Linked DNA regions of Homo sapiens: region 2 is linked to region 1. Evidence: promoter capture Hi-C in 16 types of primary human blood cells and fetal thymus (Javierre and others, 2016). All regions are on one chromosome and are shown on one strand. The core of a region is centred on a gene start or on the middle of the fragment in contact, and the rest is flanking DNA. Distances in the headings are between cores, read along the strand shown.

Region 1 (4,412 bases), core at 757-3,256:
CTGAATATAGAGTCGGTGTCACACCAACTGAGGAACAGCACATTTTAAAATACCCAGGCTCAAGACTATCCTGCAGAACTTGGTTAAAACTGATGATCTGGGGTCTCTGAGACACTCTGAGGCATGTCAGTGCTGTAGTCACAAACCTCACTCAGTAAATTCCTCAGGGGGCTCACCAGGGCCCCTGTGCACGCACTTGGTGGATTGCAGAGATGAGACACACATAACACATCAGTGGCTCCCAAACCTACCATACAAGAGAATCACTGGGGAGCCTCTTCTCACACAGAGTCCCTGTCTCTTACTCCCCTCACTGCCCTGGGCCTTCTAAATCACAATCTCCAGAAAAGGAACTCAGGAATCTGCACTTAGACAAGCATCCTGGTGATTCTGATGTGTGGCCAGGTTTGGGTACTGAGGAAGCCAGTCAGCATTAACATGGTGTGATGGATGCTACCACAGAGGCCTTTCTGCTGCGGAGGGACCAGAGAACAGGGAGATATCATGGCAGGCTTCACAGAAGCCAGATCTCTAGATGCCATCCTTGCTGTCTCTCTTAACCCCTCCCCAAGGGCCAGTCGTCAACTCCTGCTGATCTACTCCCTGAATATATCACAAATTCATCTGGGTGCCCTCCCTCCGCTGTCTCCATTCTGGTCTAGGCCACCATCACCTCTCACTCAGACTGCAGCAAACTCTACCTAACCAGCCTTTTTGACTCTAGCTTACCCTAGAGTATCTAATCTATTCTCACACTTCAAGGAAAGTAATTTTTCCAAAACGTAACTCTCATCCTGTCACTCATTCTGCCTAGAACCTTCCATGACTCCCTAGCACCTTCCATGACTCCCTAGCACCCTAGGATAGCTAGCGTTTCTCAGCTCCCACACTCCCCCAACTCCCTGGCATCTGCCTTCTCTCCAGGGAGGACTAGTACATCATTCTACTCATACATTCTACGCATACCTCATTCTACCAGTCCTACCAGCTCGTGCACCCAAGCCTTTGCATGGGCCTCCCATCATGCCTTCCCACAGCCCACTTGTAATGTCCTGGCTAATTCTCAGGTATCCGCAGGTCTCCACGTGGATATAAACATCTTTTCTACCAGAAACCTTCCCCCACGTCTCCAAAATGGGTCACCTGCCCCACAGCTACTCAAACCTTTCCGGTCAAGCTCGTTCCTTTGCCTGGCCTGCCCACCAATGCCCTGGGTGGGGACTCTGCCTGGGTCTCGCAGCACCCTCAACGCCAAGCCAGGAAGGGAAGGCAGGTTCTGAGGAAACTCTTACTGCAATAAGAAATGAATTAAATCTCTAAGGTTCTAAGTCTCTACAATTCTATTCGCTGTCTCCAGATTCTATTCTGAAAGGCCAAAATTTCTAAGAATCTGATTTTATGTTAATTCAAAAGTGTTTCCACGTCTATGCTCAAAGTTTACAAAAGACTACTCAAAGTTTACCATTCCAACTCTAAGGAGTCCTTAACTCTTCACCTCCCGGGGCATCCGGCCGCCGGGGACCGCGTCTCGGGCCAGCGCCGGGCACCACTCTGGTCCCGGGCCCCCGGGCCCCGCCGCCTCACCTGGCCGCCTGCATGAGCGCGCTCCAGCCGTAGTGGTTGCGGCTGTTGACCGAGGCACCGCGGCGCAGCAGGAAGCGCACCAGCGGTTCGTGGCCCCCGGCCGCGGCGAACTGCAGTGCGGTGTTGCCCGCCTCGTCCGAGCAATCCACGGGCACCGGAGCCCCGACTGCCCCCGCCGCTGCGGCCCCGGGCCCGGCCACCTCGGCCCCCGCCGGCTCCGCGCCCGCCTCCGGCTCCGCGCCGCGCTCGGCTGGCTCCGCCGCCCCCGGCTCCAGCAGCCGCCGCGCCGTCTCCGTGTCGCCCTGGTCACACGCGCGCAGCAGCAGCTGGAAGGCCGGGGGCAGCCCGCCCTCGCCCATCGCCGCCGCCACGCGCGGCCCGCTCCCGTCCGCCCCGCCGGCCGCGTCGGCTCCGCCCCCGGATACCGCCCGCAGGCGCCCCCTTCCGGCCACCCGCCCGCGCCGCGCGCCTACTGTGTGCCGGGAGCGCGCCGGGGCTAGGGCCGCGCGCCTGCTGTGTGCCGGGAGCGCGCTAGGGCCGGGGCTGCGCACCTCCAGTGCCCGTATTCGGGAGTCCAGGGACGCTCAGAGGAGCGCCCGCCGCAGACCCGCGTGTTCCCTTTTGCCTCTTCGGCGCCCTCTCGCCGCCCTGTCCCGGGGCTCCAGAAACTTCCTGTCAGGGCAGAGGTGGGAGCGGCCACGCCATCCCCTCTTCACGCTGTGGTCAGGGCCCTGGGCCCGGGTCTGAGTCCGCAGCTGCGTGGGCCTTGACTTTACTAGCGGGCTCCGCTGACCCCACCGCAGCCCCTGGCACTGAACCTGCCCTTCTAGAATAAGGAAGCGGCTGAATTAAGGAACGAACGGATTGTTTCCTCACAGTGTCCTGCGGTGCCCTTAATGTCGCTCCTTCATCTGGGCCAGGCTGCTGGGGCTAAAAGCGCCTCCTGTTCTCTCTCTCTCCCCCACCTTTTATTTCAACTATTATTATAGATTAAAGGGTACAGGTTTGTTACATGGGTAAATTGTTACATGGGTAAATTGCGCGACGCTGAAGCTTGTGGTCCCAACGATCCCGTCACCCAGGCAGTAAGCATAATACCCACCAAGAGGTTCTTCAGCCCAGAGTCCCCTCCATCCCTCCCTGGCCTAGCGATCCCCAGCGTTTGTTGTTCCCATCTTTGTGTCCATGTGTACTCAATGTTTAGCTCCCACTTATAAGTGAGAACATGCAGTATTTGGTTTTCTGTTCTTTTTAGGTCGCTTAGGATAATGGCCTCCAGCTTTATCCATGTTGCTGCAAAGGGCATGATTTCGTTCATTCTTATGGCTGCATAGTATTCCGTAGTATTCCATCATATTCTATCGTGTATATGCACCACATTTCTTTCATTCCTTCCCTCTCTTCCCTCCCTCCCTCCCTATCCCCCTTCCTTCCTCCCTCCCTCCCTCCCTTTCTCCCTCTCTCTCTCTCTCTCTCTCTCTCTTTTGACAGGGTCTTGCTCTGTCATCCAGGCTGGAGTGCAATGGTGCAATCTCTACTCACCACAACCTCTGCCTCCCAGGCTCAAGCAATCCTCCCACCTCAGCCTACCGAGTAGCTAGGACTGCAGGCAAGTGCCACCACACCCGGCTAATTTTTTGTATTTTTGGTTGAGAAAGGGTTTTACCATGTTGTCCGGCTGGTCTCAAAGTCCTGAGCTCAAGTGATTCACCTGCTGTGGCCTCCCAAAGTGCCAGGATTACAGGTGTGAGCCATCACATCTGGCTCTGTACCACATGTTCTTTATCCAATCTACTGTTGATGGGCACTTAGGTTGATTCCATACCCTTGCTATTGTAAATGGCACTGCAATGAATATACAGGTGTCTTTTTGATAGAATGAATTATTTTCCTTTGGGTATATACCTGGTAGTAGGTTTGCTGGGTCAAATAGTTCTATTTTAAGTTCTTTGAGAAATCTCCAAACTGCTTTCCACGGTGGCTGAACTAGTTTGCATTCCCACCAACAGTGTATTTTCTCCACAGCCTTAGCAGCACCTATTGTTTTTTGACTTTTTAATAATTGACATTCTGACTGGTGTAGATGATATCTCATTGTGGTTTTGATTTGCATTTCTCTGATGATTAATGATGTTGCGCATTTGTTTCATATGTTTGTTGGCTGCCTGTATGTCTTCTTTTGAGAAGTGTCTGTTCATGCCCTTTGCAGAGACACAACGAAAAAAAGAAAACTTCAGGCCAATATTCCTGAAAAACATAGCTGCAAAAATCCTCAATGACATACTACAAACAGAATCCAGCAGCACATCAAAAAGTCAATTCACCATGATCAAGTAGGCTTTATTTCTGGAATGCAAGGTTGGCTCAACATGCGCAAATCAATACATGTGATTCACCATATAAACAGAATCAAAAACAAAAACCATATAATCATCTCAATAGATGCAGAAAAGGCCTTCAATAAAATCCAACATCCCTTTATAATAAAAATCTTCAAAACAGATTAGGCATTGAAGGAACATACCTCAAAATAATAACAGCCATCTATGACAAACCCATAGCCAACATCATATTAAACAGGCAAAAGCTGGAAGAAGACTCTCACCACTCCTATTCAACATAGTACTGGAAGTCCTAGCCAGACAACCAGGTAAGAGAAAGAAATAAAAGGCATTCAAATAGGAAAAGAAAAAGTCGAACACTCTGTCTTTGCGGAGAGTATGAATCTATACATAGAAAACCCTACAGAGTTTGCCAAAAGGCTCCTGGAAATGATAAACAAATTCAGTAAAGTTTCAGGACAGAAAATCAATGTATAAAAAGCAATA
Region 2 (4,412 bases), core at 1,030-3,529, 460 kb before region 1:
AGTGGCAACGAGTCAGACACAAGAAGATGGCAATGTGAAGGGCTGGCTTCCGTGGGCTCTGCAAGGGTTCAGGGCAGAGCAGCCAAAGGCCGGGTAATAAATGATGCTCTGTATGAGGGCTAACCTTCATCAAGTGCTCTCCAGGTGCTGGGTGTGGGCAAATCTTACAGGCATCCCTTCTAGTCCTCCCCAAAGCTCAGTAAAGTGGGCACTTCTCCTATCTAGGCCCATTTTAAGGCTGAAGCCCTCAGAAATGATACTCATTTTCTAGAGCTGTTGTAACAAACTACCATAAATTGGGCGGCTTAAAACAATAGACAATTAATCCTTGCACAGTTCTGGAGGCCAGAAGTCCAAAGTCAAGATGTCCGTTGGGCTGTGCTCCTTCTGAAGGCTCAAGAGAAGAATCCTGCCATGTCTTCTCCAGCTCCCGGTGGCCCCAGGCATTCCATGCTGTGGCTGCATCATTCTGCCTCCATCTCCGCATGGCCTTCTCCCCTGTGTCTGTGTCCCTCTATGTGTATTTTTTATAAGGACACCTGTCATCGAGTTTAGGGCCCATCCGGGTAATCCAAAATGATTTCTTCTGAAGACCCTTAACATAATGACATCTGCAAAGACCCCTTTAGCAAATAAGGCCACATTTCACAGGTCCAGGGGTAAGGATGCATATATCGTTTAGGGGGAATGACAATTCAGCCCAGTACACTAACCTAACTTCACACAGTAAGTGGCTGAACTGGGATTTGGAGTTAAGCCTAGCTCCAGAGTCTACTTGCTTAACCACTAAGGGCTACATGTTGTATATTTACCAGCTGTGTGACCATGGGCATGTTATTTAACCCCTCTGTGCCTCAGTTTCCTCATCTGTAGACTGGGGATAATAATGGTAATTCCCACATGGGGTTGTTGTGAAGACTGAATGAGTTGATAAAGCAAAGAACTTGGAACAGTGCTTACCACATAGCATGCACTCAAGAAAAGCTGTTGCTATGATTATTTTTGCTATTGTTACTCCTAAGACAATGCAGCTTTGTTGAAATCCTAGAAGAAGGCTGAGTAGATCTAGTACTAAGGATGAAGCGGGACTGGAAGGTGAAGCTCTCAGATCTAAACTTGCTGGATTTGAATATCTGTTCACTCTCATGAACCATCAACCAGATAATCACAGATGTGAAAGAGATTTAAGCATTTGTAAGAGAACATTATGCACAATTGGAAGCTAATAATTTTGAAAGCATCAATGAAGAAAAAGAAAACAAAGGGACGGATGCAAAAAGAAGCAGGAAGTGTGAATGGATCAATCCCAGTGGAAGGGATACTGACTCATCCAATACCACAAGGCTTGGGCTGGGTTCCAGTTCTCATGCGTAGCAAGCAAGGTTATCTCAGGCCAGTCAGGTCACCTACTCAGCTTTAGTTTCCTCTGATGAATCTCTAAAATGGGGATGTCAAGGTGCTTTGTGAACTTTGCCATGCTGTTGAAATGTGAGACACTGTTGTCATTATTATAGTACGTGTTTGCTTACTATTGGGTGCTTGCATGTGAGTAGGGTAAGCCTGGAGTTGGGGTACCAGTCCAGAGAAGGGCAAGAGTATGGGTGGGTGGGCTGGGAAGTGAGATTTGGGCAGGACCAGCAATGATCGTGTTTCTTCTGGCTGCTGTCCCCTAAGGGGTGGTTCACAGGTTGTCTCAGCCTCCTCTGACATGAACAGAGCATCTTTGGGGCATGTTAAATGTTTCATCCTTTGTCAAGGACAAAACAACTCAGTATTTGAAGCTTAATCCACTATCGCTTTAGGGAGAAACTTCAAGCTAAACAAGGGCAGAAAAGAATGAACATCCCACCACAGGGCTGGCGGTTCCTTTCCGAGCCACCATGAGTGCTGAGGTGCCTGGACACTGTGGTTCCCTTGTCCTTTTTTCTTCCCTGTTGGTTTCTGTGGTCAGTGGTTTCCTTGTGATTGTAGAGCACTTAGAAACAAACCTGCCTAAAGTTCTGGTGTGGAACTTGCTCACCCTCTGTCTTCCCATTGCAATGAACAATGCTGCAGAAATAGAAACCTCATAGAAACCTCCCTTTTTTCCTCTTCCTTGCTCTCTCTCTTCCACTGGAGAAACAATTGTTCAAATGCTAACACAAAGATTTTCAGAAAAATATGAGACCAGAGGGCCTGCGTAGCTCTTTGGGGTCTGCACACATGAACTCCCCAGGTGGGCCTCTCTCTGAGTCTGTAATTCTTTTGTCATCATCATCATCTCTGGCTGGCAGGGACCAACTGGACTTCAGATTTTCTGGATTCAGCCTTTTCTTCTTTTACTTTCTAGTCGTAAAAATTTATTGTCCTGAGTCTATTTATCACCCTGGTATCCAAGGTACAGTCTTGGGCCCTTCCTAGAGATTCGTGAGAGTCTGGACCAGAGAATCTCAACTCCGGCTGCACACCAGAACCCATGGCAACTTTAAAAAATTCCTGATGCACAGGGCCCTTTCTAAGCCAGTTAAATCAGATATTTTGGGGGGTGTGACCCGGGCCGGTATTTTCAAAAAGATCTTTTCTGGGTGATGTAGCAGGATTGAGAACCACGAGTCAAGTTTCTCTTTGAAATCATTCAACAACAACAACAACAACAACAACCAAACTTCCTCTTCACCTTTAAAACATTACTTATTTTTCTTTTTAGTATCAACATATTCATCCAATAGTTCAATCCAGCTACTGAGCAACCACATTACCTACTCAGCTGTTGTCAGTGCTGACAAGAATCATGCCAGGGAAGCTTGTCCATCATCCATTCATTCATGCACGCATTCCTTTGTTCATTCATTCACTCATCCATTCAACCAACATATATTGAGCTGTGTGTCTGTCTGGCCCTGTGCAAGGCCATGGAGAAAGAGCTCTGAGTAAGATAGTTAAGGGCCCTGTTTCATGGGGCTCACATTCTAGTGGATGATAGAATATAGATGAGAGAACGAGGAATAAGCAATGTGATGGAGAAACAGGGGAGGTGAGAAAGAATGTTGGGGGACATTTAAGGATCTGGTGATCAGGGAGGTGGCATTTAAGCTAGATCTGAATGACAGGAAAGAGTCTGAAAAGGTTTGGAGGAAGAGCGTTCCAGGCAGAAGAATCATGAATGCAAAGGCACAAAGTTGGGAATAAAGTTGGAGTGTTAGAGCTCCAGACAGAAGGCCCACATGGCTAAAGACTGGGGTGAGCACAGGGAGAGGAACTAGATGAAGTCAGATATGGAGTGGGACTGGATTGTGTAGGACCTGTAGCAAGGTAAGAAGTGTGGGTTTTATTTTAAATTGGAGAATTTTAAGTGCAAAATAGTAAGATACGTCGTGCGTTTAAAAAAGATATCTGGCTGGGCGCAGTGGCTCATGCCTATAATCCCAGCACTTTGGGAGGCCAAGGCGGGTGGATCACAAAGTCAGGAGTTTGAGACCAGCCTGGCCAATATGGTGAAACCCCGTCTCTACTAAAAAATACAAAAATTAGCCAGGCATGGTGGCATGTGCCTGTAGTCCCAGCTACTCGGGAGGCTGAGGCAGGAGAATCGCTTGAACCCAGGAGGCAGAGGTTGCAGTGAGCCAAGATCACGCCACTGACTCCAGCCTGAGCGACAGAGGGAGACTCTGTCTCAAAAACAAAAAAGTATCTTCCAGAATGGCAGATGTAAATCCTGCCTTTCCAGTAATTACATAAAATGGATTAAACACTCCAATTGAAATGCAGAGATTGGCAGAATGAATTAAAAAAAACATGATCTGACTATATTTGCTGTATATGTGACTCACTTTTGATTCAAAGATATAAGTAGGTTGAAAGTCTATCCGAGAATTTTTTGGCTATTCAGGAAAATGGAATATGAAGCATACAAATTGGAATGAAAGGAGCAAAACTCTCTATTTGCAAATTATATAATCTTATGGGTAGAAAATTCTAAAGAATCCACCAAGAAGGCTGGGTTCAGTGGCTCACACCTGTAATCCCAGCACTTTGGGAGGCCAAGACAGGTGGATTACCTGAGGTCAGGAGTTGAAGACCAGCCTGGACAACATAGTGAAACCCTGTCTCTACTAAAAATACAAAAATTAGCCAGGCATGGTGGTGGGTGCCTGTAACCTCAGCTACTCAGGAGGCCGAGGCACGAGAATCGCTTGAACCCGGGAGGCGGAGGTTGCAGTGAGCCAAGATTGCACCAATGCACTCCCGCCTGGGTGACAGAGTGAGACTCCATCTCGGAAGAAAAAAAAATTGCTGAAAGAAATTAAAGAAGACCTAAATAAATGAAAAGATAGCCCATGTTCATGAATTGGAAGACAATATTCTTAAGATGGCAATACTCCCCATATTATCTACAAACTCAAATCAACGCTTATGAAAATCCCAACAGCCTT

What was found. The method cuts DNA at HindIII sites, captures the fragments that hold promoters and counts their contacts. A CHiCAGO score of 5 or more calls a contact.
Region 2: a contact is called between a fragment that was not itself captured here and the fragment with the promoter of ANKS6 in region 1, in 2 of 17 cell types (M1 macrophages and M0 macrophages). The highest score is 5.3, in M1 macrophages.

Annotation. Positions count from the first base shown.
Region 1 is chr9:98,794,549-98,798,960 of GRCh38, forward strand. It overlaps ANKS6 (ankyrin repeat and sterile alpha motif domain containing 6), which reads right to left and starts at 2,007. Exons shown (of 15, transcript NM_173551.5): 1 at 1,585-2,007. The coding sequence starts at 1,943. It overlaps LOC124902229 (a long non-coding RNA gene), which reads right to left. Exons shown (of 2, transcript XR_007061689.1): 2 at 3,900-4,412. RefSeq lists enhancers at 1,270-1,770, 1,771-2,271 and a silencer at 1,530-2,149. The HindIII fragment of the contact is 11,591 bases long and covers 1-2,635 here.
Region 2 is chr9:98,333,050-98,337,461 of GRCh38, forward strand. The region is part of intron 13 of GABBR2 (gamma-aminobutyric acid type B receptor subunit 2); the gene reads right to left. Among named protein-coding and RNA genes, the nearest start is that of TBC1D2, 80 kb to the left of the region's middle. The HindIII fragment of the contact is 1,001 bases long and covers 1,780-2,780 here.